Regions from separate parts of the Homo sapiens genome. Here regions 2, 3 and 4 are each linked to region 1. The links are contacts of gene promoters, found by promoter capture Hi-C in human tissues and cell types (Jung and others, 2019). All regions are on one chromosome and are shown on one strand. Each heading gives the region's core, a stretch centred on a gene start or on the middle of the fragment in contact. The rest is flanking DNA. Distances are from core to core; before and after follow the strand shown.

Region 1 (6,157 bases), core at 3,658-6,157:
CCCAGAACGGCTGGTAGGAAGGGCCCGGGGCAAGGTGGAGGGAGGGTCCTGGGTGAGCCCCTCGCCCATCGCCGCTTCCTTCCCTAGGCTCTATGTGCACTCGGCTGTGGCCAACTGGAAGAAGTGCCTGCACTCCATCAAGCTGAAGGATTCTGTGCTGAGCCTGGTGTGGGTGACCCCAGACCGAGGGCCGGGCGGCGCGGGGGAACGGGGCGGAGGGGGCTGGCACAGCCTGGCCCAAACCAGGCTCACCGCATTCCTGTTTCAGGCATGTCAAAGGCCGTGTGCTGGTGGCTCTGGCGGACGGGACCCTGGCCATCTTCCACCGTGGTGAAGGTGGGGCCTGGCAGCACGGGGTGTGTGGGTGGCAGCTGATGGCCCTGGCATTGTTTAGCCAAGGGGCTCCCGGGGTTCCAGGCCTCTCCTTAGTCTGGCAGTGGGTGTCTCAACCCGATGCCCTGAGCAGAGGTGGGGCCTGGCCAGGCCTGAGCAGGTGTCCGGGGCTCCCTCCAGATGGCCAGTGGGATCTGAGCAACTATCACCTAATGGACCTGGGCCACCCGCACCACTCCATCCGCTGCATGGCTGTTGTGTACGACCGCGTGTGGTGTGGCTACAAGAACAAGGTGCACGTCATCCAGCCCAAGACCATGCAGATAGAGGCGAGTGCCGGCCAGGGCCCCGGGGAGGGGAAGAGGCTCCTGCTGGCCAGCAGCTCTCCCGCATCTTCCATACGGAAGTCCACGAGGCCCTACGTGGGTCCCATCTCCCCTGTACCACCTATGACTCAGGCTCGAACAGGCGCAAAGCAGGCGCTGGCTGGGAGGTCTGAGGGGACTGCAGGTGGCCCTGGAGCTGTGGCAGGTTTGGGGCTCCCCACTTCCTCTCCTCTCCCCAGCCCTGTTGATGGGCAGCCATGACTCCACAGAAGTCATTTGACGCCCACCCGCGGCGGGAGAGCCAGGTGCGGCAGCTGGCGTGGATCGGCGATGGCGTATGGGTGTCCATCCGCCTGGACTCCACCCTGAGGCTCTACCATGCACACACGCACCAGCATCTACAGGACGTGGACATTGAGCCCTACGTCAGCAAGATGCTAGGTGAGGGGCCACGCCAGATGGGGTGGTGGGGTGCTCAAGGCCAGCCACCCTGACCGCTCTCCCCCACAGGCACTGGCAAGCTGGGTTTCTCCTTCGTACGCATCACGGCCCTGCTTGTCGCGGGCAGCCGGCTCTGGGTGGGCACCGGCAACGGAGTGGTCATCTCCATCCCCCTGACAGAGAGTGAGTGGCCTGCACACCTGCAGGGGCAGTGGTGCTGCCAGAGGTGTACGTGGGTTCACGGGGTGGCTCTGCAGGGCCACCTTGGAGGGTGCCTTGCTGCCCCTACGCTGACCGCTCTCCTCTTCTCCCATGCTCCTCCCATGTCCCCAGCTGTGGTCCTGCACCGAGGCCAGCTCCTGGGGCTCCGAGGTAAGCCCAGCCACCTCGTGTCCCCTCACGGGAGCCTCTCCCACTCTCCACCTGTATGCGGGCTCAGCGCCTCTGGGTTCTCTCCCTGCAGCCAATAAGACATCCCCCACCTCTGGGGAGGGCGCCCGTCCCGGGGGCATCATCCACGTGTATGGCGATGACAGCAGTGACAGGGCGGCCAGCAGCTTCATCCCCTACTGCTCCATGGCCCAGGCCCAGCTATGCTTCCATGGGCACCGCGATGCCGTGAAGTTCTTTGTCTCGGTGCCAGGTGAGGCTGGGCCCCTCCTGCCATCCACATCCCCTGCATGCCAGTGGCCGCCGCCTCCCCCAGGAGGCCGCTGTCCTGAATCGCTTCTGCCATCCCAGGGAACGTGCTGGCCACCCTGAATGGGAGTGTGCTGGACAGCCCAGCCGAGGGCCCTGGGCCAGCTGCCCCTGCCTCGGAGGTCGAGGGCCAGAAGCTGCGGAACGTGCTGGTGCTGAGCGGCGGGGAGGGCTACATCGACTTCCGCATTGGTGAGCGGGGCCCAGGGACAGGGCTGAGGTTGGGCGCGGGGGGAGCCTGGCCGTCACTCTGCTGCTTTGCCCGCAGGAGACGGAGAGGACGACGAGACGGAGGAGGGCGCAGGGGACATGAGCCAGGTGAAGCCCGTGCTGTCCAAGGCAGAGCGCAGTCACATCATCGTGTGGCAGGTGTCCTACACCCCCGAGTGAAGCTGCTGCCCTGCCTGGCCCGACCTGTACATAGGACCCCCGACCACCTGACCCCCGCCCGGCCCGCGGGGTAGCCAGCCAGGCGCCGCCGCCCCTCTTCTAACCTCTCAACCTGCAGCTTTCACCTGAGTCTGGCCCCTCCAGCGGGCAGGGAGTGCGGGGATGCGGATCAGCTGGGAGGAGGAGGGGAGGGGAACTTCCACCCGAGGGGAAGATGCTCTCGGGACAGTTTCCCGGGCAGCTCCTGGCCAGCTTCCAGCCCAGAGTCCTCAAGTCCAGGGCACCTTGGGCCCAGCGCAGGCAGAATCCGAGGTGGTCCTGGCTCTACCCTGGGCCTCCTACTCCCCAGCACCCCTGGAGGAGGCAGGGGCTCCCCGCCGCCGAGGCTGCCTGCCCTGGGCCCACCTCTGCATGCTGCTCATGGGGCCACCCTGCCTCCTGGGCCCTCACTCTGCCTAGGGGAGCTGGGCCAGGCACTAGCCTTTGCCCAGGGAGGTGGGCCTCAGGCTGCCCAGGTGCCTGCACCCCAGCCGGCCTTCTCTGGGGCCTCCCCGTCGTCAAGCCTCTATCCTGTCTGTCCCCACCCCAGCTGTCCCCTGCCCAGGGAGCTGGCATAAAAGCACGAGGCCCGGCTCCCTGGGGCAGCTGCTTGAGAACAGAGACTGCTACCCCATCCTGCCCATGCAGGCAGGCTCTTGCCAGCCCCGTTCTGACCCGTGTCCCCCCAGGCTCTGCCTGGGCAGAAGACTCACCTTGGAGGAGTGGGCCCTGGAGTCCTGTCCCTCCCAGAAGCCCCCAGGGTGGGATTTCTCAGGCTGCCAGGGCAGGCCCAGGCCTCAGGAAGAAGGGGAGGCCCCTGGCCTCTCCGGGATCAGTCCTAGGACACAGGCTCAGCCTCAGGTTGATGGGGGATGATGTGCTCCCGGGGCCTGCCTCCTGCACGGGGCTCCACGGAGCCCAGCTCCCAGACACGCTACTAAGTGCCTAGGGTTGCCCGCTGTGGCCTGCTTCCAGGGAGCAACAGAGAGGCCACCAAGCAGAGGCCCGTGGGGCTGAGGATGGAGCCGCCCCCAGCCGACTCCAAGCCCGCAGAGGGCAGACGCCACCCTGGACTGCTCTCCCTGCCCAGCTGGGCCTCTCTGGCCTATTCCTACCTTCCAGGCCCACTGCACTCCTGTCTGGGAGGCCCTTATGAGGGCAGCCCAGCCCCCGCACCCACCCCCAACCAGAGAAGCACAGATCTTGGGGAGCTGCCCCACAAGCCCCGCTGGCCACCGAGGGCTGCAGCCGCTGCGCTGCCGGCTTCTCCCCACCACCCTGCCACCTCCACTGTGATGTATGTCCGCTCCCTCGTCTGTTCCCCCAGGATCTCGAAGTGACTCCGGGCTGAGCAGTGGGGCGGCTGGGGGAGGGGTGACGATTCTCCTCAGGCTTTGGCCCTGCAAGCAAACCCACATATCTGCTCTGTATGTAATAAATGTCTTAACGTCGTAGCTGCCTGTTCCTGGGCCCAAATCGAAACGAAAACGAGGACTTTATTATAAAAAAACGTTGGACCACGTTGGGCTGGGCACCAGGACAGTGTCCTGGCACGTTTCCAGGCGAGCCGCGCAGGCTCCTGGAGCAGCTCCTCGGGCAGGAAACCCTGTACGCCAGGGATTGGAGAGGCCTGCGCCACCCTCCATGCAACGTCCAGACAGGTGGATGTTCAGCAGCCCGTCCAAAGGGATGCTCCAAGCGCTGTGGGGTGGGGCCAGAAGCCCGCCCACCTGGGCCCTGGAGGAGGCTGGAGTGTGAGAGCCTCTGTGACGCGCATCTGCCGGGCTACTCATACAGCCAGTGCCCAGCGCTGTCCTCCCAGCAGAGGAGCTCGTCTGCGCGGAACCAGAGAGCGATCTCGCGGCGGGCACTCTCCACCGAGTCGCTGCCGTGAATCAGGTTCCTGCGCGGAAGAGGCGCGTGTGAGCGTGGGAAAGAGACCTCCGGCACGGGTACCACGCAGGCTGAACAGGGGGAGGCCGGACGGGGCTGGGACCGTCCCCGGGGCGGGCCTTACTTGCCAACCTCGATGCAGAAATCCCCGCGGATGGTGCCGGGCGGGGCGTCGGCCGGGTTCGTGGCTCCGATGAGCGCCCGCGAGGTGCGCACCACGTCCAGCCCCTGCCATACCTGTGCGGAGGAACGGGCGCGGTATCACGCGGGGGTGGGGGTCCCGGAGCCGCCCGCCCGCTTCCCGGATACTCACCATGGCCACCACCGGCCCGGAGGCCATATACTTGACAAGGCGGCCGTAGAACGGGCGTTCACGCAGCTCGGCGTAGTGCTCACGCAGCAGCTCCTCGGAGGCCTGCGGAAGGGTCAGGCCGCCTGCGCCCGCACCCGGCACCTAGGCGTCCCCAGGTCCCCGCTCCCCTTCCCCCCACACCGCGCCCCCGCTCGCTCACCGCGCCCCCACCTGCACCAGCTTCAGCGCCACCAACTTGAAGCCCTTCCTCTCGAAGCGCCGCACAATCTCGCCCACCAGCCGCCGCTGCACGCCGTCCGGCTTCACGGCCAGGAAGGTGCGTTCGTGTGCGCCGGTGCAGGCTGCGGGGCAGGCGGGGACGGGCCGTCAGGCCGGCCCAGCACCGGCCACCCGCCCCCGGCCCGCGCCGCGCGGCTCACCCGCGGGGAAGAGGTTAGCGAAGATGGTCAGCACCAGGCAGATCATGATGGCGGTGCGGGAGCGGGATCCGCGGGGCGGGGCGGTGGCGCCCGGGGCGGGGCCTGCGCTTAAAGAGGCCTGGTCGGGGCGCTGCGGCCTCCGCGGGGAGGCTGCTTCACTTGCACCCCGGAACCCGGCAGCCGTGGGGGGCCGGAGGGCAGCTGCGGAGGCCAAGTCTCCTCCAGCAGCTCGGACACTAACTGTATCCCCCACAACCCGCCCAGGTGGTTCCACCCACGCGGCGCCCTGCTCCGCACCGCCCGAACCCCGCCCCCCCCGCGCCCCCCCGGCCAGGGCCACGACCACAGCGTCAGCCCTTCTCTCCCCGGTCCTAAAGACAGAGCGCAAAGACACCACGACCCTGGGTACTTCTTTTCTCTTTATTCCCTTTCATAGCTTCTGCCGGGATCCAGGCAGAGAGAGCACTAATGGGGGAAAGGGAGCGAGCGCTTCCCGCTTTCCCCAGCGTGGGCCCTCGGAGTTGGGTGTGGGGGCAGCAGGGCCAGAGGAAAGGCACAGGTGGCGATTTGCCCCAGCCCTCCCCCCTAAGATGCAGACCCTCAGAACACGTCGCGGAAGGTGAGCTCCCTGCTCCGAGAGGCAGACTCGGGTGTAACGCAAAGACGGTTTCTTTCATCAATAAGGTCCCCACTGCCTCACAGCCCCTAAGGCCACCCGCTGGTTCTGGCATTCTAGACGGGGGTGCCCTTGGCCCTTCCTTTGTCTTCCTGTTTTGCAGGGTAATCCCAGGGTTCCATGCGTATCCTCTGCACATTCAGCATGGGCTCCTCGGTGCTTGTGTCTCCATTTTTCTGTCGTTCTGCGATAATCATGGCCCGGAGGAGAGGCGGGTACGGCACGGAGGCCAGGCTGTCTTCCGGCGCCGGCGTGAACGCGGTGAAGGCCTCCTCCTCGTGCTTGGGCACCAGCCGCCAGTCATGGTACATGACGTGTTCGATCTCCCGCGCCTCGCTCTCAGTCTTCCCTGATGAAGAAAAAGAGGCGTCTGCACACACTTGCTGTGCCGTCGGCGGTCGGCATCGAACTGCCGGGCACCCGCTCTCCCGAGCCTTACCTTTGAAGGTCAGGATGCCCCAGGCCTTCCCGTGGTCCAAGTTCTGCAAAGCCAGAAGGAAGCGGGGTCAGCTCGCAAAGCTCTCGGCCCCCGAGGTCAGGAGGTGGGAGCCTCAGCCACGCAAACCTGCAGGGAGGAGGGGAGGCGGGGAGACCAGGCGGCTGCAGGGGCGGGGTGCGGACGGGGTGC
Region 2 (3,337 bases), core at 1-2,500, 980 kb before region 1:
TTGGTCACGCGCCGCTCCTTGAAGCACCTGTACGCGCTGCCGGCGGCTGCCTTGTTTAGGGCCACGCACAGCGCCCCGCTGGTGGAGAAATCCAGCTGGTGGCAGAACCTGGAGTGGGACAGAGTCCAGAGTCTGAGCCACTTTCCTCCACAGACGCCACCGTGGGGCTCCGGCCGCCCCCCCTACCTGAACCCGTAGCAGGTGTCAGGGTCGGCCAGCTCGGGAAAGCGGTACCGCAGCTGCTTCTGCAGGGTCAGAGTCTCCCGCCACGCCTTGCTGTCAATGCGAACGTCCCAGTGCTTGTTGACCACCAGGAAGTCGCGGCTCCGGTACACGATGGACAGGTTCTCCACGCTGCCTGGCTCCATGGCCGGCCTGCCGAGCCACGCGTGGGTGCGTGTGCTGTGAGCACGTGGTGCGCCCCCAGCCCAGCATACAGAGGTACCCGCACCGCCCCACCCGGGCTCCGGTGCGAAGCCACCGAGCCGGGTCCGCAGCCCTACTGTGCACCTGCATCCTCAGTCCCCGAGATCAGTCCCCAGGGCGTCAGCTGGGGAGTCAAGGAGTCAGCCTGCTCCGGGCTGACCTGAAGGGCCCTGCCTGACCTAAGCCTGGAGAAAGAGCCCGTTCCAAACCTGCCCCACAGATCCTCCCCACAGACCCTCCCCTCCAGGGGATGCACGTGAATGCCTCTGCCCGACGGTGGGGGCGGGGAGGGGCTGCAGCACTACCAGGCCCGGCAGCCAGGTCTGCCCGCAGCGCGGGTTAGGGCTGGGGCCTCCTCGCTCCCCGCAGTCCGCGCAGACCCGCGCCCCGCACAGGCCCGGTGGGCAGGCCGACCCTGGCTCCGAGCCCCTCCCGCGCCCACGCCCACGCCAAGACCAACCTGCTGCCGGGCCGTGCAGTCCAGGCCCCCGATGCCGTGCCCGGCGCCGGCTCCAGCCGCGCGCCCGCGCGCTGGCGACCCAGAGACCCTGGAAGCTCCGCTCCGGACGCCTGGCAGCGCTTCCGCCCTGCACCGCTGCGCGCGCAGCCCCGCCCCCCCCCCCGGCCCGCCCCCGGCCCGCCCCCGCCGCGGAAGGGCGGCTGCGGCGGCCAATGGCGAGCTCCCCAGGACAGGACGCGGGGGCTGCGGAGCAGGAACTCGCCCCGCCCACCCCTCGCGCAGCCCCGCCTCCGCCACGCCAACCAATGGCGCGCGCCGCCGGGCACGCCGGCTGCTGATTGGCGGCGCCCGGCACGCTCGGGGCGGGCAGTGCGCGACGGCGGCGGCGGCGCGGGAGGTTCGGAGCGGGAGCTCGGGCTCGCGGACGGTATGGAGGACTACGAGCAGGAGCTGTGCGGCGTCGAGGATGATTTCCACAACCAGTTCGCGGCCGAGCTGGAGGTGCTGGCAGAGCTGGAAGGTGGGGCGCGGCCCCCGGCCGTTGGGGAGGAGCTGCGAAAGCCGGGACAGTGGCGACCTCGGGGAGGGCGTGCCGGGGGCCGAAGGGGCCTCCACGTCGCCGCTGGCGGGATCTGCTGTCTCGGGGCGGCCGCTGACAATCTCCTCTCCCAGCAGGGGCGTCGACTCCGTCGCCCTCCGGGGTCCCCCTGTTCACCGCGGGCCGACCCCCGCGGACGTTCGAGGAGGCCCTTGCCAGAGGGGACGCGGCCTCCAGTCCCGCCCCAGCCGCATCTGTGGGCAGCAGCCAGGGCGGCGCCAGGAAGAGGCAGGTGGACGCCGACCTGCAGCCGGCCGGGTCCCTGCCCCACGGTAGGTTGGCGGCATTGCCCCAGGGCCTCCGGAGTGGGCGCGAGGCTGAGGAGGCCTCTGGTTCCCTGCATGTGTCTCCCCCAGCCCCCAGGATCAAACGGCCTAGGCTGCAGGTGGTCAAGAGGCTGAACTTCAGATCGGAGGAGATGGAGGAGCCGCCCCCTCCCGACTCCTCGCCGACGGACATCACCCCGCCGCCGAGCCCTGAGGACCTCGCAGAGCTTTGGGGCCACGGGTGTGTGGCTTGGACATGGGCGTCCCATCCCATCTGTCCAGTGGGACTCAGATGGAGCCCATCCCGTGCCCTGGATGAGGCCTGGGGGGTGGGGAGGGTTCCATGGCTGAGAGCAGTCTCGGACACCCATATCCAAGGGTGACCCCACGCTTGAGTTTCTGCCACTGAGCCCCGGTCTCTCTCCAGAGTCTCAGAAGCTGCTGCCGACGTGGGTCTCACACGGGCCTCACCAGCTGCCCGCAATCCCGTCCTGAGGCGGCCCCCCATCTTGGAGGACTACGTCCACGTGACATCCACGGAGGGCGTCCGGGCTTATCTGGTGCTGCGTGCTGACCCCATGGCCCCGGGGGTGCAGGTGCGTGGCTGTGGCCTTCCTGCACGGTGGGTGGGCCAGTGCTGCTCAGGAAAGGGTCCTTGGAGCCCCTCACCCCTGCCATTTGCTTAAAGCGGGTCCTGTGCAGAGCCCCAGGGGTGCAGAGGGGGAGGCTGCGTCATGGGGCGTAGACTTAGAGGACACAGCCTCCCCACAGCAGGTTGCTGTCCAGCCTGTTTGTATGGCCTCGGGTGGAGAGGGCCTCCTTGCTTCCCCTCCTGCTTTTGCCCTTTCCTCCTTTCTCCTAAAGCTGCCCCCAATTTCCCTTTGCAGCTGACCCATCTGGATGGCTTCATTCCTTTGGCACCCCTGTCCAGTCTCCCACCCCTCACTGGCCAGCTTACTGGGGTTGTCCCACCCGGGTCCCTGAGCACTGATGGGGGCTGACGTGAATCCTGTGACCTAGGAGGGGCCCAGAGGCAATTGTCCTCCCTTCCCCACAGGGCTCTCTCCTCCACGTCCCATGGCGAGGCGGTGGCCAGCTGGACCTGCTGGGTGTGTCCTTAGCCTCCCTGAAGAAGCAGGTCGACGGCGAGGTAGGGGCTGCGGGTTTGCTGGGGGGCGGTGGCGGGGCCGCCTGAGCCCTCCTGATTCCAGCCTGTTGTTTGCACAGCGGCGGGAGCGGCTGCTTCAGGAGGCCCAGAAGCTTTCAGACACCCTGCACAGGTGACTTGGTTGGCCCTTCCGCCCTGGGGACCCTTGTTGGCTCTTGCACCAACTCCTAGCTCCTAGCGTGTGGGTTGGCATGGTCCCTGCGAGTTGTTTGTGGCTCAGGACGTGGTCCTCTCCAGTCTCAGGTCGGGGGAGGAGGAGGCAGCCCAGCCCTTGGGGGCCCCTGAGGAGGAGCCGACTGACGGTCAAGACGCCTCCAGTCACTGCCTCTGGGTGGATGAGTTTGCACCCCGCCACTACACGGAGCTGCTCAGTGATGACGTGAGGTCTTGTTCTCACTCAAGTGTGGCTGGCTTCCTCT
Region 3 (6,296 bases), core at 2,806-5,305, 700 kb after region 1:
CTGCCTCCAGGCTTATGCCCAGGTGCCTCTATCTGCAGGAGCCACTGACTCATTTGAAACCCCCAACCACGCTGCGACCGTACACCCCCGTGGCTTTCCAGAGCAGGTGGTCTCTACCTGACGTTATTTCACTGGCTGACTTGGCTCATGGCTCATCCCCCATGCCTACTGGATGTCTGCCTCAGGAGGACAGGGGTGCTATCCCCCCTACCCCGGCCAGGCCCTGATGGGAGCCAGATGTGCACTGACTCAATGATCCACCAATCCCGGGGGCCAACCCAGAGGACAGTGGTGTCCTGGAGCAGGGAGGCGGCCTAGATAGCTTTGTGGGGGTCCTGAGGAGGCCCCAACACAGGAGTCCAGGGCGGGAAAGACAAGCCGCCTCCTCGGACTAACGCCCGCCCACCCCGATTCCCCGCCAAAACCCAGAGGTAGCAGCTGACTCCTCGGGCTCCCGGCTGGCGTCACCGCCTCTGGAGCCAATGGGCTCTGACGTGGCGAGCCTGGAACGCCACTGGGACTGCGCGGGCGTCCACACCACCCACCGAGCGCGGCCACCGCGTTGGCGGCATGAGCGCGCTCGAGCCTCCCCCAGCGGCGCCCGCCTCGCCCCCCGGGCCGGGTCTGGCGCACCCGGAACCCCCCGGGGCCCTGCGCGCCCTGCTCTTGGCCACCGGCGGCGCTGGGGGCTCGTGGCCTCGCTGCATTCTGCCGTTCGGTGCCGTGGCCGTGCTGGCTGGTGCGGCTGCCACGGCCATCACCTTCTCGCTGCGGGGACCCCGCCTGGACCTGGCCCAGGGCTCGTCGCTGGCCGCGCTCAGTGCGGGCCTGGGGCTTCTGACCGCCGCCTTCCTGTGCTGGCGCGCTCGGCGGAGGCGAAGGGCCGGGCGCAGGGAGCCGGGGGCGCCCTGAGCCGCGGGCGAGGCCCCCTCCCATCGAGGTCACCGCGAGCCGGCCGCCCCTCCCTCCAACCTCGCCCCGGCCGGGCGGGCGCAGTGCCAAGCGTGGTCGCAGAGGCCGCCCCCCACACCCCATCCCCAAATCGTTTCTTCTGGAACCCTTTGGGCAGAGAAGGCCACCGGCCGTTTCCCTCCCTCCCTCTCTGCTTTCCCTCTCTTCCCTCCTCCGTCCAACGTCGCATTTCAGCTTTTGACTTGGCGCGCAGAGCTGGCGCGACCGCAGAGCGGCCTGGCTGGGCAGCGGTCTGCGAGGCTGGGGGATCGACCCGGCGCGAGGGTGCTGGGTGCAGGGCAGCGCGACGCGGGCTCGGCCACACCACCCGCCGTTGGGAGCCGGCGCTGTGTCTGCTCCTGGGCTGTCTGCCTTCGGAGCTCGGTTGGAAACCCCCCGAGGCATAATAGGCGCTCGATAAATGTGCAATAGGTGAACATGTGGTGGCTTGCAGGCGTCTGGGGGGAGACAGCAGGTTCTGGGCTGGGCAGGGAATTATTGGATCAACGGGCATCTTACAGGAAAGACTCTCAGCTCCCTGCCGCCTAGGACTGTCCAGCCCATCTATGCCCTCTCCCCAGCCTGTGCCCCAAAGCTGGAGCTGCCACTCTAGGGGTGAGGGGTGGGGTGGGGAGGGGGAGGCGAAGCACTGCGGCCTGAGTTGCAGGTGGGGGGAGGGGAGGCGGAGCTTCTTTGTTGCAGAAGGTGCCAGGAGGGGGCAGGGCCAGTGGAGAGGTGGGAGGTGGGAGAGGCCCCAGCCAGGGGCTGGGACAGGTGGCTGGGTCCCTGGGGAGCAATAAGTCCCGCTTGGGCGCTGTGGGGAGGCCCTTCCTAACTCCCAAACACCATCTGTGAGGGCTGGGGGTGGGGGCAGAGTAGCGTGTGCAGAGGACTGTTCCTGGGGAGAGGCCCTGTGACCAGCGGCCTCCTCCCTGGGGAGCTGGCGGTACAATGGCCCTCTGGGCCCACGGCCTCCCGCCGCTGCTGCTGACCCAGATGAACAATTGGGGCAGGGCTGAGCCCCAGGCACCTACTTTCCCCCACCCCAGAAGCCACCAGACGTTCTGCAGACCCCAGTCCTGGCTCACAGGGAAGCTGAGCTGGAGACAAAGCCAGCCCCTCTGATGAGGGTGGAAGAGGCTGCTGGCCACTGTCCCTCTTGCAGCCTGGCTGGCAGCCAGTCTGGCAGTGGCCCTGACGTCCAGAGACAGCTTGGGTTTCCCCAGAGGCTTGTCTCTGGCCAGTGGGACCCCTCTGTCAGGCCTGGGCTTTTCTCTCCACTGTCCCAGAATGATGATCTCAGCCCCCATAGTCCCCCCAGGGTTCCTCCCACCCTTAGGGTGGGGTGTCGGGGGGTGGGGGTTGGGAGCCAGAAGGACCTTGAAGAGGGTGGTTGGGACGTTTCAGGTTCTAAGCTTGACCCACAGAGCGGAGCGTGAGCCCCGTCAGGTTGAGGTCCCTCAACTTGTAAAGGACACAATTCCCATTCTCTTTATCAGGAAGCTGAGGGGCAGGGGCCCTGTGGCAGAGAGAGAGCCCCTTAGCCCTCTCTGTTCAGTCCTCCGGTGCCCCCATCCCTGTGCATCTGTGGCTGTCACATGCAGATGTGTGGCAAGGAGAAGGTGCCCACCAGCCAGTGTCAGTTGCTCCAGGAGCCAAGCCAGGTGCCCTATCACCCTGTCTTCCCGTTCCTCCCCTCCATGGTCAGGCCCTCCTGCTCCCTCCTCTGGTCCTTCAGTTTCCCCTAGGAGGCTTCCGTGTCCTCCTGCCCCTCCTCTCCCCAACAGCGGGATGCGTCTACCTCTCCATTCTCTTCCTCCTGGTCCTTGCTCATCTCTGGTCGTGTCCAGGGTAGCACCCACGTGGCCTCCTCCACCAGCTGCAGGCCTGGCCTCCCATCTGAAACGGGGCATTCAGGCCTCGATGCTGGCCCTGCACGGAACTTGTTCCCTGCCCCTCCCTGGGATGCTTGGCCTCCTCTGTCAAGGACCTGAAAGTCGGAGGGGAGGAGGTTTCTCTGACCAGAGCTGTTCCTGGACCCTCTTTGGTGGTGTCGCTCCCAGGCACAGCTACCCCATCCCCAGCTAGTCCCCAGGCCACCCAGCTGGGCTTCTGCCTCAGTTTCCCTGCCCAAACGTGCTGTGACGTAGGGCAGTGGGCTCCGGGTTGCGACCAGCCCCTTCCCATGATTAAACCCTACTCCCTGCCCCTGCAGAGGGGTCCTCAACAGCTAACCAAGCCCCCGAACCCCAAGAAGCCACCCCATCCCACCCTCCAGCTTCCATGTCCTCCCTGCCAGCTGGGCCCGTGGCAGAGGTGCCCCTAGAAACTTGCAGACCCAGGGAGCTTTGGGATCAGAATCTGGCCTGGTGCAGGGGATGCTGGCCTCATGTCTTAGCCCAGCTCAGGCCCATGGGGGTGCCCCCCTTCCTCAACATGGGCAGGAGACACTCCAATTTGTGCAGCTCTCGACTTGGGCCTGATGCCACTTGAGACTCATCAAATCCAACAGCTTCAGAGCGCGTGCTGAGTAACAGGCATCTGGCAGGTGAGGAAACAGGAGCCCAAGACATGCAGCCAGAAATGGGGCAGTTGGATTCAAAATTAGACCTGACCGAATCCTGGGTTCCTTCTACTCGAGTAGATGCTGCTTTGGGGATGACCCTTCAACTGGTGGTTACTTGGCTTCCCTACCTGGGGAACATCCAGGGCCTCTGCTGTCAGACCCGGGGCCTTGCCTGCCTGATGGTCTTCAGGGAGGAGGCGACCCAGACCCCCGTCCAGCACGTGGCACAGCCCCAGGAGCAGTAAAGACCTGGCTGTGGGCCCAGGACCCTGCTGGGTGGTCCCCCACGGGCTGCGAAGGCTGAGCTGCCCCCCTCCAGACCCCTCCCGCCAGCGCATTCCTGGCTCCCCGGCCCCTCCCCTGGCTCCCGGGCCTCCCAGCCCCCTTCCCCGCTGGCCCAGCCCGCGTCTGAATCTGCTTCTGATTCCAGCTCTGCGATGAGGCCCCCTCCCCTCCCCTGCCTCCTTCCCGACCCGAGCAGCCCCGCCCCCGGCTGGGCCCGGGCTTGCGCCTGCTGCGCCCCCCACCCCCTCCTGGCACAGCTCGTCCGCCCTCGCTGCAGCCGGGAGGAGGCGGCGGCCCGTGCACCGCAGGCCCCGCCCGCCCACGGCCCTTCCCGGGAGGCCGGGAGACCTGCTCCGCCCGGCCCTCGGTGGGTGAGTGCGAGCGGCGGGTGGGGCCTCCGCGGGCGGAGGCACCGGGAGCGGGGGCGACGCCTGTCATCGCTCTAGGCCCAGCGGGAGGACGCGCCAACATCCCCGCTGCTGTGCTGGGCCCGGGGCGTGCCCGCCGCTGCTCCCACCTCTGGGCCGGGCTGGGGCCGCCCGGGGGCCCTGTTCCTCGGCATTGCGGGCCTGGTGGGCAGAGCCGCGGAGAGGGCTTCTTTTCCCCAAGGGCAGCGTCTTGGGGCCCGGCCACTGGCTGACCCGCAGCGGCTCCGGCCATGCCTGGCTGGCCCTGGGGGCTGCTGCTGACGGCAGGCACGCTCTTCGCCGCCCTGAGTCCTGGGCCGCCGGCGCCCGCCGACCCCTGCCACGATGAGGGGGGTGCGCCCCGCGGCTGCGTGCCAGGACTGGTGAACGCCGCCCTGGGCCGCGAGGTGCTGGCTTCCAGCACGTGCGGGCGGCCGGCCACTCGGGCCTGCGACGCCTCCGACCCGCGACGGGCACACTCCCCCGCCCTCCTTACTTCCCCAGGGGGCACGGCCAGCCCTCTGTGCTGGCGCTCGGAGTCCCTGCCTCGGGCGCCCCTCAACGTGACTCTCACGGTGCCCCTGGGCAAGGCTTTTGAGCTGGTCTTCGTGAGCCTGCGCTTCTGCTCAGCTCCCCCAGCCTCCGTGGCCCTGCTCAAGTCTCAGGACCATGGCCGCAGCTGGGCCCCGCTGGGCTTCTTCTCCTCCCACTGTGACCTGGACTATGGCCGTCTGCCTGCCCCTGCCAATGGCCCAGCTGGCCCAGGGCCTGAGGCCCTGTGCTTCCCCGCACCCCTGGCCCAGCCTGATGGCAGCGGCCTTCTGGCCTTCAGCATGCAGGACAGCAGCCCCCCAGGCCTGGACCTGGACAGCAGCCCAGTGCTCCAAGACTGGGTGACCGCCACCGACGTCCGTGTAGTGCTCACAAGGCCTAGCACGGCAGGTGACCCCAGGGACATGGAGGCCGTCGTCCCTTACTCCTACGCAGCCACCGACCTCCAGGTGGGCGGGCGCTGCAAGTGCAATGGACATGCCTCACGGTGCCTGCTGGACACACAGGGCCACCTGATCTGCGACTGTCGGCATGGCACCGAGGGCCCTGACTGCGGCCGCTGCAAGCCCTTCTACTGCGACAGGCCATGGCAGCGGGCCACTGCCCGGGAATCCCACGCCTGCCTCGGTGAGGCCTTGGAGGGTGGCCTGGGGACCTTGGACACAACCAGCCTGCCCCTGACCCATCCCTCCCTGCAGCTTGCTCCTGCAACGGCCATGCCCGCCGCTGCCGCTTCAACATGGAGCTGTACCGACTGTCCGGCCGCCGCAGCGGGGGTGTCTGTCTCAACTGCCGGCACAACACCGCCGGCCGCCACTGCCACTACTGCCGGGAGGGCTTCTATCGAGACCCTGGCCGTGCCCTGAGTGACCGTCGGGCTTGCAGGGGTGAGCCACCACCGGCCACCTGCAGGCCCTCACCCTCTGACTTCCCAGATCCCCAGACAGGCTTCTGACCAGGCCCTTCCCACCTCTGTCCTCAGCCTGCGACTGTCACCCGGTTGGTGCTGCTGGCAAGACCTGCAACCAGACCACAGGCCAGTGTCCCTGCAAGGATGGCGTCACTGGCCTCACCTGCAACCGCTGCGCGCCTGGCTTCCAGCAAAGCCGCTCCCCAGTGGCGCCCTGTGTTAGTGAGTGACCCTGCCCCGCCTCAGCCACCAAGCCAAGGCCACCCCAGCTCCCTGCTGTTGTCCCGTCTATTCCCCGAGCCCTGCAGATCTCTCTGCCCCTCCATCGCAGGCCATTCTCCCTCCCTCTCTGCAGAGACCCCTATCCCTGGACCCACTGAGGACAGCAGCCCTGTGCAGCCCCAGGGTGAGTGGACACAGGACAGGGCCCCAGACTGGCATGACTTTGGGGGAGGGGGCTCTGGGAGGAGAGGGTGGGGAAAGGGAGTCTGTGCCAGCCTCCCACCTTCTACCCAGACTGTGACTCGCACTGCAAACCTGCCCGTGGCAGCTACCGCATCAGCCTAAAGAAGTTCTGCAAGAAGGACTATGGTAGGTGCCCTCAGGCCTCCCGCGGACCTTCCCA
Region 4 (6,378 bases), core at 822-3,321, 910 kb after region 1:
GGCCCCCCCTTGCCTGGCTGGTTGACAGACCCGGGGTGCTCACTGCTGAGACTTCAGAGATCGCAGCTGCTGTGAGAATACGGTGAAGGTACTATGTTCTGGAAGATGTTGTCATACACTTTTCCCCAGTTATTTTCAAACTTGACATGAGCCTATGTTGACTCACTGGGTGGGGTCCCTTCTTACGCAGCACACGTGGCAAGTGCCTGAATCGGGGCTGGAGGCACTTCAGAGCCTCTGAGGGGCCACCACTTCTGGCCCAAAATTGCAGGGTTGTAGATGAGGCTGCCTGTGGAGAACTGGTGTGAGGAGGAAGCTGTTTCCAACAAAGAGCACTTTCATCTGTTGAGATGGCTGTGGTGAGCAACTGAACGAGCCTACGTGTGTACCTGAATTTTCCCCATAACTCATTTCTTCCATATGAAGAAACACCAAACTATGTACAGAGAACTTTTTACAAAAGGCAGACCTTTTTTAAGCTGTGTAACCCACATAGCCTAACCGTCTGGCAGAATGACTACGAATAGGGGTCATTGTGCTGGTAAAAGCCTCTATTACGACTGTTAAGTTGGATGTTGGCAAAATTAAATTGTTACAGTATTTAGAGCTGCTGTAGCTGTTCCTTCACAACATGAAATAGGATAAATGACTAGTACGTCTTTCAGGTGGGTGGCAGTCAGAACATGCGTAATATTCTCTACCTGGTCTGTAGCTGTAACTGTGATGTACAGACAAAGCAAAAATTAAAAGAACTCATGAAAACAAATAATACAATGGTATTAGGATATACACTTTTGTGTTTTTAATCTTATAGAAGGTTATTTGCTGGCTATTGTTGGCCTCTAGTTCAGCCTGTTATTTAAATTCTTTTTTTTTCTTGAGACGGAGTCTCACTCTGTCGCCCAGGCTAGAGTGCAGTGGCCTGATCTCGGCTAACTGCAACCTCCGCCTCCTGGGTTTAAGCAATTCTCTGCCTCAGCCTCCGAGTAGCTGGGATTACGAGCGCCCACAACCACATCTGGCTAATTTTTTGTATTTTTGGTAGAGACGGAGATTCACCATCTTGGCCAGGCTGATGTTGAACTCCTGACCTCGTGATCCACCCACCTTGGCCTCCCAAAGTGTTGGGATTACAGACATGAGCCACCGCGCCCGGCCTAAATTCTAATATATGAATTATTTGTATTGAATTCATGTTCGGGGCCACGTTGTTATATGTATTGATATACAGCCTTGAATGTGAATAATTACTATATATTTTACAACTTTTTTCTGGCTTTATTACAAAAACTTTCTTTTTTTTTTTTTGAGACAGACTCTCGCCCTATCACCAGGCTGGAGTGCAGTGGCGAGATCTCAGCTCACTGCAACCTCTGCCTCCCGGGTTCACGCCATTCTCCTGCCGCAGCCTCCCGAGTAGCTTGGATTACCGGCGCCCACCACCGCGCCAGGCTAATTTTTGTATTTTCAGTGGAGACCGGGCCTCACCATGTTGGCCAGCGTGGTCTCGATCTCCTGACCGCCTGATCCTCCCGCCTCGGCCTCCCAAAGTGCTGGGATTACAGGCGTGAGCCACCAGGCCCCGCCCTTATTATATAAATTTTCTATTGGGTCAATGATTTAATCATATAATTTAATGAATCTGTTCTTTTTTTCCCCCCAAATATTTGTGCTTTAGGTGTAGTTACCAGATGATGAATTTTCCTCCTATGCTCCGTAGTCTTGTAATAAAAAGCATGTACAGTGTAGACGTTTGCTGGCATGGCTCTTCCTTTGACCAGTTCATGAACTGGAGTCAGGGTGGGGGTGAAGGCTAGGGTCGAGGTCTGGGTCAGGCGCTCGTGCACCGCTCGTGGGAGGTCGAGGCTGATGTCCGCTGCTCCCCATCAGCGTTAGTGCCCAGATCACCCCGTGCTCCGCTCCCGCCGGAAGCGGGCCCAGCCTCCTGCTTTTCGGGACCGGAACTTCCGCCTACCGCGTGACGCCGGGGCGGGCGCTCTACCAGGGCGGACCTGTGGGCGGGACAGAACTCAGAGGACGCTATTAAAAGCCGGACGCTTCCGGTGGAAGGGAGCTGTTGCGGGGCTTGCTGGGATCATGGCGGAGAATCACTGCGAGCTCCTGTCGCCGGCCCGGGGCGGCATCGGGGCGGGGCTGGGGGGCGGCCTGTGCCGCCGCTGCAGCGCTGGGCTCGGCGCCCTGGCCCAGCGCCCTGGCAGCGTGTCCAAGTGGGTCCGACTCAACGTCGGCGGCACCTACTTCCTCACCACTCGGCAGACCCTGTGCCGGGACCCGAAATCCTTCCTGTACCGCTTATGCCAGGCCGATCCCGACCTGGACTCAGACAAGGTGAGGGCCTCACGGGCCAGCCCGGAGGGTCCTGGCCTTCCCGGCCTGCGGCTCCTGCACACGCCCTGCTTCGTGCGGAGGAGACTTCAGCGGGAGCGGGCGACTCTCCTCGGGCTTCGAGCCCCGCGCTCCCTTGTCGCCAGCTCCTCCCCAGCTTGCCCCGATCCCCTACCCTGGGAGGGGAGGGTGAGGATGGCGCCCTGGCGTCCACTGCCTTTGAGGATCCTGAGTCGATTCACCTTGGGGGTGTCTCTTCCTCGCCCTCTTTGCTCTTTGGTGGAGGAGGCTTCCTAGACCCCGGACTTTGCTGTGATTCTACTTTCTTTTTCTCACTAGGTTCTTTTGCCCAGGGTGTGTGAACGCCTTCTCTTCTCTGTCCCAGGGTACTTGCTGGCTCTGGAAACAGAACCCTTGGCGTTGTTTCACATTCTGGACGTTTGAATTAACGCTGACGTGGGGGTTGATATGGGCGGCCCTTTTTTTCCCTGGTGACTTGCATTTAGAGAGTTGGCGCTCCATCCTTTCCATCCACAGCACGCAGCACCCACTCAGCACCTCTTAGAAGATGCGTCCGTAGTATATAGTATGATTTTTCGAAGGGGATTTTGCTCATATTAAGGGTTGCTTTAGGGATGTCCAGGAAGGGTCAGGTAAGGAATCTTTCAATCTGCTTTCTAATTGGCTTAGTTTTCCCACTGTCTTCGCAAAAGGACAGGAATTTCCAGGTTAGTTTGCAGCTTGTCTTTCATCAAGCGAAATGCTCATGCTGTTGGGTAGATGGTAATAGAAACCTTTTGCTACCTTTATTTATCAAGAGTTGTGGAGCCGAGGAACCGTGTCTTGGGAGTTGTGCAGGATTGAAACTCACAAAAAAGCCTGTTTGAAGAAGTTGTTACCTATATTTATTCAAGGCAGTTCACAAGCCTTATACTAACTTTGCGGGGTCTTTCAGTTGAGCTTACATGACTGCGCTTGGCTTTGTGCCTTGGCAGCCAACATTTGCCATGCAGGAGGCTTCCCAGAAAGGTTCGGATCCCTCTTCAAGTTTGAGAAGCCTGACTGAGACCATTCTCAGCATGGCATGACCGTGATCAGGAAGTGAGAATCTGGAGTTACTGCTAAGGCAGCCTTGTGGGTGGAAATGAGGGTTTGAGATGCCAACCCTCCTGTGCCTCCCCACAACTTCCAACTGTTTCCATTGCTCATTTGACCAAGCCCTCTACTCAGAGAATTGACCTCCCAGGAAATGACAGTCATCCCCAGGATAGAAATAGGCGTTTGTTAGCTGTGATTTTCCTTTTATAAGTGTGGGTGTATGTTTTACTGTTTGGTTTTTCTTTTTAAATAACAGGGCTTAGTGGTCACTCCCTTGCCTTTCTACTCAAGCATTCCTGTTTTGTATATGAAATTAGAGTTTAAATTGCTCTTGTCCATTGGGTTCTTTGAGGCAATGGTTGTCTATTCAGCACTGGAGCACTTGATTCCCAGTTGATGAACTTTAGCACAGTTAAGGTGGTTGATCCCTTTGCTTTACTGTTCCTTAAGACTTTGTTAAAAATTATGGGCCAGGCGCGGTGGCTCATGCCTGTAATCCCAACACTTTGGGAGGCCCAGGCAGGTGGATCTCGTTCAAAACCAACCGGGCCAATATGGTGATGCCCGGTCTCTACTAAAAATACAAAAAGGTGGGCGCGGTGGCTCACGTCTGTAATCCCAGCACTTTGGGAGGCCGAGGCAGGCGGATCACGAGGTCAGGAGATCGAGACCATCCTGGCTAACATGATGAAACTCTGTCTCTACTAAAAATACAAAAAATGAGCCAGGCGCGGTGGCGAGCACCTGTAGTCCCAGCTACTAGGCAGTCTGAGGCAGGAGAATGGCGTGAGCCTGGGAGGAGGAGCTTGCAGTGAGCCTAGTTAGCGCCACTGCAGTCCAGCCTGGGTGAAAGAGCAAGACTCCATCACAAAAAAAAAAAAATAAAAAAAAAATAAGCCAGGTGTGGTGGCGCGTGCCTGTAGTCCCAGCTACTCTGGAGGCTGAGGCAGAAGAATCGCTTGAACCTGGGAGGTGGAGCTTGCAGTGAGTCAAGATCACGCCACTGCACTCTAGCTTGGATGACAGAGGAAGACTCTGTCTCAAACAAACAAAAAAATGCTTTACTGTAGGAATCAATTCTTTGAGCGAGGGGTAATTAATCTTTCTGAATATATCTGTGTTATACTTGCTCTTTTCATCATCATCCATTTAACCAGGTTTGATTTCCAAATGGTAAACTCAAATTCAGAACATGAAGGTAAAGTAGCAGATACAGTCGTCTCTGTCTCATACAATAATTGGAGTAGGGGCCGGGCAAGGTGGCTCACGCCTGTAATCCCAGCACTTTGGGAGGCCGAGGCGCGTGAATCACCTGAGGTCAGGAGTTTGAGAGCAGCCTGGCCAGCATGGCAAAACCCCGTCTCTACTAAAAATACAAAAAAATTAGCTGGGCATGGTGGCGCGTGCCTGTACTCCCAGCTACTCGGGAGGCTGAGGCAGGAGAACCACTTGAACCGAGAGGCAGAGGTTACAGTGGGCTGAGGTTGCGCCACTGCACTCCAGCATGGGCGACAGATCGAGACTCTGTCTCAAAAAAAAAGAAAAAAGAAAAGGAGAAAACAATAATTGGAGTAAATAAGGTTAGTTTTAGTGACAGATAGTTTGCCAAAAGTGTAGTGCTAATTCATATTAGTCACGTTACTAAAGTGTTTTCCGGTGTTTTTCATCAAATGAGGAAATGTGTAAAATGCTTCATCTTAGTTTTGTCTCCAGTGGCTCTGATGAAAGAATGTCCCAGGAGATTCCTCCTAATTAAATGCTGACTGAGGAATCTGAGGAGGGGGGGAAGGGGTGTCAGGAGTGGGAGGCCATTAATGACACGTTGGAAGACAAACAGGATGTTGATTCACCTGTAAAGATCTCCAAGGCCTGACCTCAGAGTTGAGATTAAGGAAAGAATATTCCTCGAGTTGGACTTAAGCATGGATCTGGTGGAAGAGTCCCTGCCTGGATTATTAGACTTGTGTGGAGTGAGCACCTGGGCTTGCAGAGTGTGGGGGTCTGGAGAGGAGTTGGGTGGGGAGATTTAAGGGGGAGGAGTTCCCAAGAAACCACAGAAGCTTTGGGTGCCTGAGAGGTTGGGAGAGCACCCTGCTAAAGCATCCTATCTGGTAGGGAGGGGAGCTCTTGACAGACGGGTTGTTAGGGAGGGTGGTGAAAGCCACGCACATCAAGGGGCTGGCTTGATTGCCCTCTGGCCCCACATCTAAGCTTCTGGGCTGTGACTGCCCCCAACCAAGTCCTCAGAGCCCAGCTTGGGACCCACCACCCGCCATACTCCACGCTCCCAAGCCCTTACTCTGCTGTTCCAAGGGCCGACCTGCTGCCACAAAGTTCTCTTTCTAGACAGCCCGGTGTGAATTCTCACTTCCTCCTGGGACTTCCTCCAGCAGGACTGTGGCTGTGGTGAGCATTTCAGCATCTGCTCATCTGCTGTTCTGTCATCTTTCTCTTCCTTGGTGTCTTCGAGGGCAGGCCAGGTGGAATACGGCTTCCCAAAGACTCGATTCATTTTGGTTAGGTCTCTTGTATTGCATGGTCCCCGGCCCATAGGCATTGTTGAAAACAAAGTCGAGTTTGTTGTTTCCAGCTAAAGCAGCCCCTGCTTTAGTGTGGAGATACTTGAGGAGTTAAAAGGAAACAGGAAATACTACTGCTTTATGGTTGGAAACCACTCAGATGGAGGAGAATTTGGGGAGGCTTCGGTTCCTGCAGCTGAGGCAGCCTTGGAGAAAACTGCACGTGAACTTTTGCCCTTTGAACAGGGCCGTTGTCCCGGCTTGAGGGTTCCAGATGTGGTGGCATCAGATGGGTCTTTGAGGGGTGGGGCAGTCAGGGTGCCTCTAACAGTGTACTGGGTGTTGGCAAGACCTCGGGGGTGGAAAGTTATGGAAGGAATTGTTCAGACAGGGCCCAGTGATGGGGTGTGGGCTA

The links. Contacts are between HindIII fragments. The study calls those that stand out against the background at their distance.
Region 2: a contact is called between the fragment with the promoter of CHTF18 here and the fragment with the promoter of NME3 in region 1, in 1 of the 25 tissues and cell types used here (dorsolateral prefrontal cortex).
Region 3: a contact is called between the fragment with the promoter of NTN3 here and the fragment with the promoter of NME3 in region 1, in 1 of the 25 tissues and cell types used here (dorsolateral prefrontal cortex).
Region 4: a contact is called between the fragment with the promoter of KCTD5 here and the fragment with the promoter of NME3 in region 1, in 1 of the 25 tissues and cell types used here (stomach).

The regions. Positions count from the first base shown.
Region 1 is chr16:1,766,636-1,772,792 of GRCh38, forward strand. It overlaps NME3 (NME/NM23 nucleoside diphosphate kinase 3), which reads right to left and starts at 4,908. Exons shown (of 5, transcript NM_002513.3): 1 at 4,854-4,908; 2 at 4,645-4,775; 3 at 4,435-4,536; 4 at 4,246-4,358; 5 at 3,685-4,131. The coding sequence starts at 4,899. The coding sequence ends at 4,014. It overlaps MAPK8IP3 (mitogen-activated protein kinase 8 interacting protein 3), which reads left to right. Exons shown (of 32, transcript NM_001318852.2): 23 at 1-13; 24 at 88-168; 25 at 269-336; 26 at 514-662; 27 at 929-1,100; 28 at 1,170-1,283; 29 at 1,434-1,472; 30 at 1,564-1,743; 31 at 1,842-1,991; 32 at 2,068-3,716. The coding sequence ends at 2,189. It overlaps MRPS34 (mitochondrial ribosomal protein S34), which reads right to left. Exons shown (of 3, transcript NM_023936.2): 2 at 5,969-6,011; 3 at 5,260-5,878. The coding sequence ends at 5,586. RefSeq lists enhancers at 1,984-2,033, 5,544-5,633 and silencers at 4,144-4,343, 4,654-5,243, 6,114-6,157. The HindIII fragment of the contact is 25,298 bases long and covers 1-6,157 here.
Region 2 is chr16:787,370-790,706 of GRCh38, forward strand. CHTF18 (chromosome transmission fidelity factor 18) reads left to right here and starts at 1,251. Exons shown (of 22, transcript NM_022092.3): 1 at 1,251-1,406; 2 at 1,562-1,756; 3 at 1,841-1,991; 4 at 2,178-2,346; 5 at 2,808-2,900; 6 at 2,978-3,030; 7 at 3,156-3,297. The coding sequence starts at 1,316. RPUSD1 (RNA pseudouridine synthase domain containing 1) reads right to left here and starts at 1,012. Exons shown (of 6, transcript NM_058192.3): 1 at 887-1,012; 2 at 187-375; 3 at 1-108. The coding sequence starts at 368. RefSeq lists an enhancer at 1-285 and silencers at 735-824, 845-1,304, 1,485-1,544. The HindIII fragment of the contact is 13,916 bases long and covers 1,202-3,337 here.
Region 3 is chr16:2,467,242-2,473,537 of GRCh38, forward strand. NTN3 (netrin 3) reads left to right here and starts at 4,056. Exons shown (of 6, transcript NM_006181.3): 1 at 4,056-5,388; 2 at 5,460-5,648; 3 at 5,744-5,893; 4 at 6,027-6,077; 5 at 6,188-6,262. The coding sequence starts at 4,461. It overlaps TEDC2-AS1 (TEDC2 antisense RNA 1), which reads right to left and starts at 972. Exons shown (of 1, transcript NR_135198.1): 1 at 1-972. RefSeq lists silencers at 421-470, 531-870, 881-930, 4,194-4,333 and enhancers at 1,378-1,921, 1,881-2,020, 2,181-2,260. The HindIII fragment of the contact is 12,116 bases long and covers 1-6,296 here.
Region 4 is chr16:2,680,452-2,686,829 of GRCh38, forward strand. KCTD5 (potassium channel tetramerization domain containing 5) reads left to right here and starts at 2,072. Exons shown (of 6, transcript NM_018992.4): 1 at 2,072-2,349. The coding sequence starts at 2,098. RefSeq lists a silencer at 2,155-2,334 and enhancers at 2,430-3,040, 2,585-2,634, 2,705-2,754, 6,321-6,370. The HindIII fragment of the contact is 14,940 bases long and covers 1-6,378 here.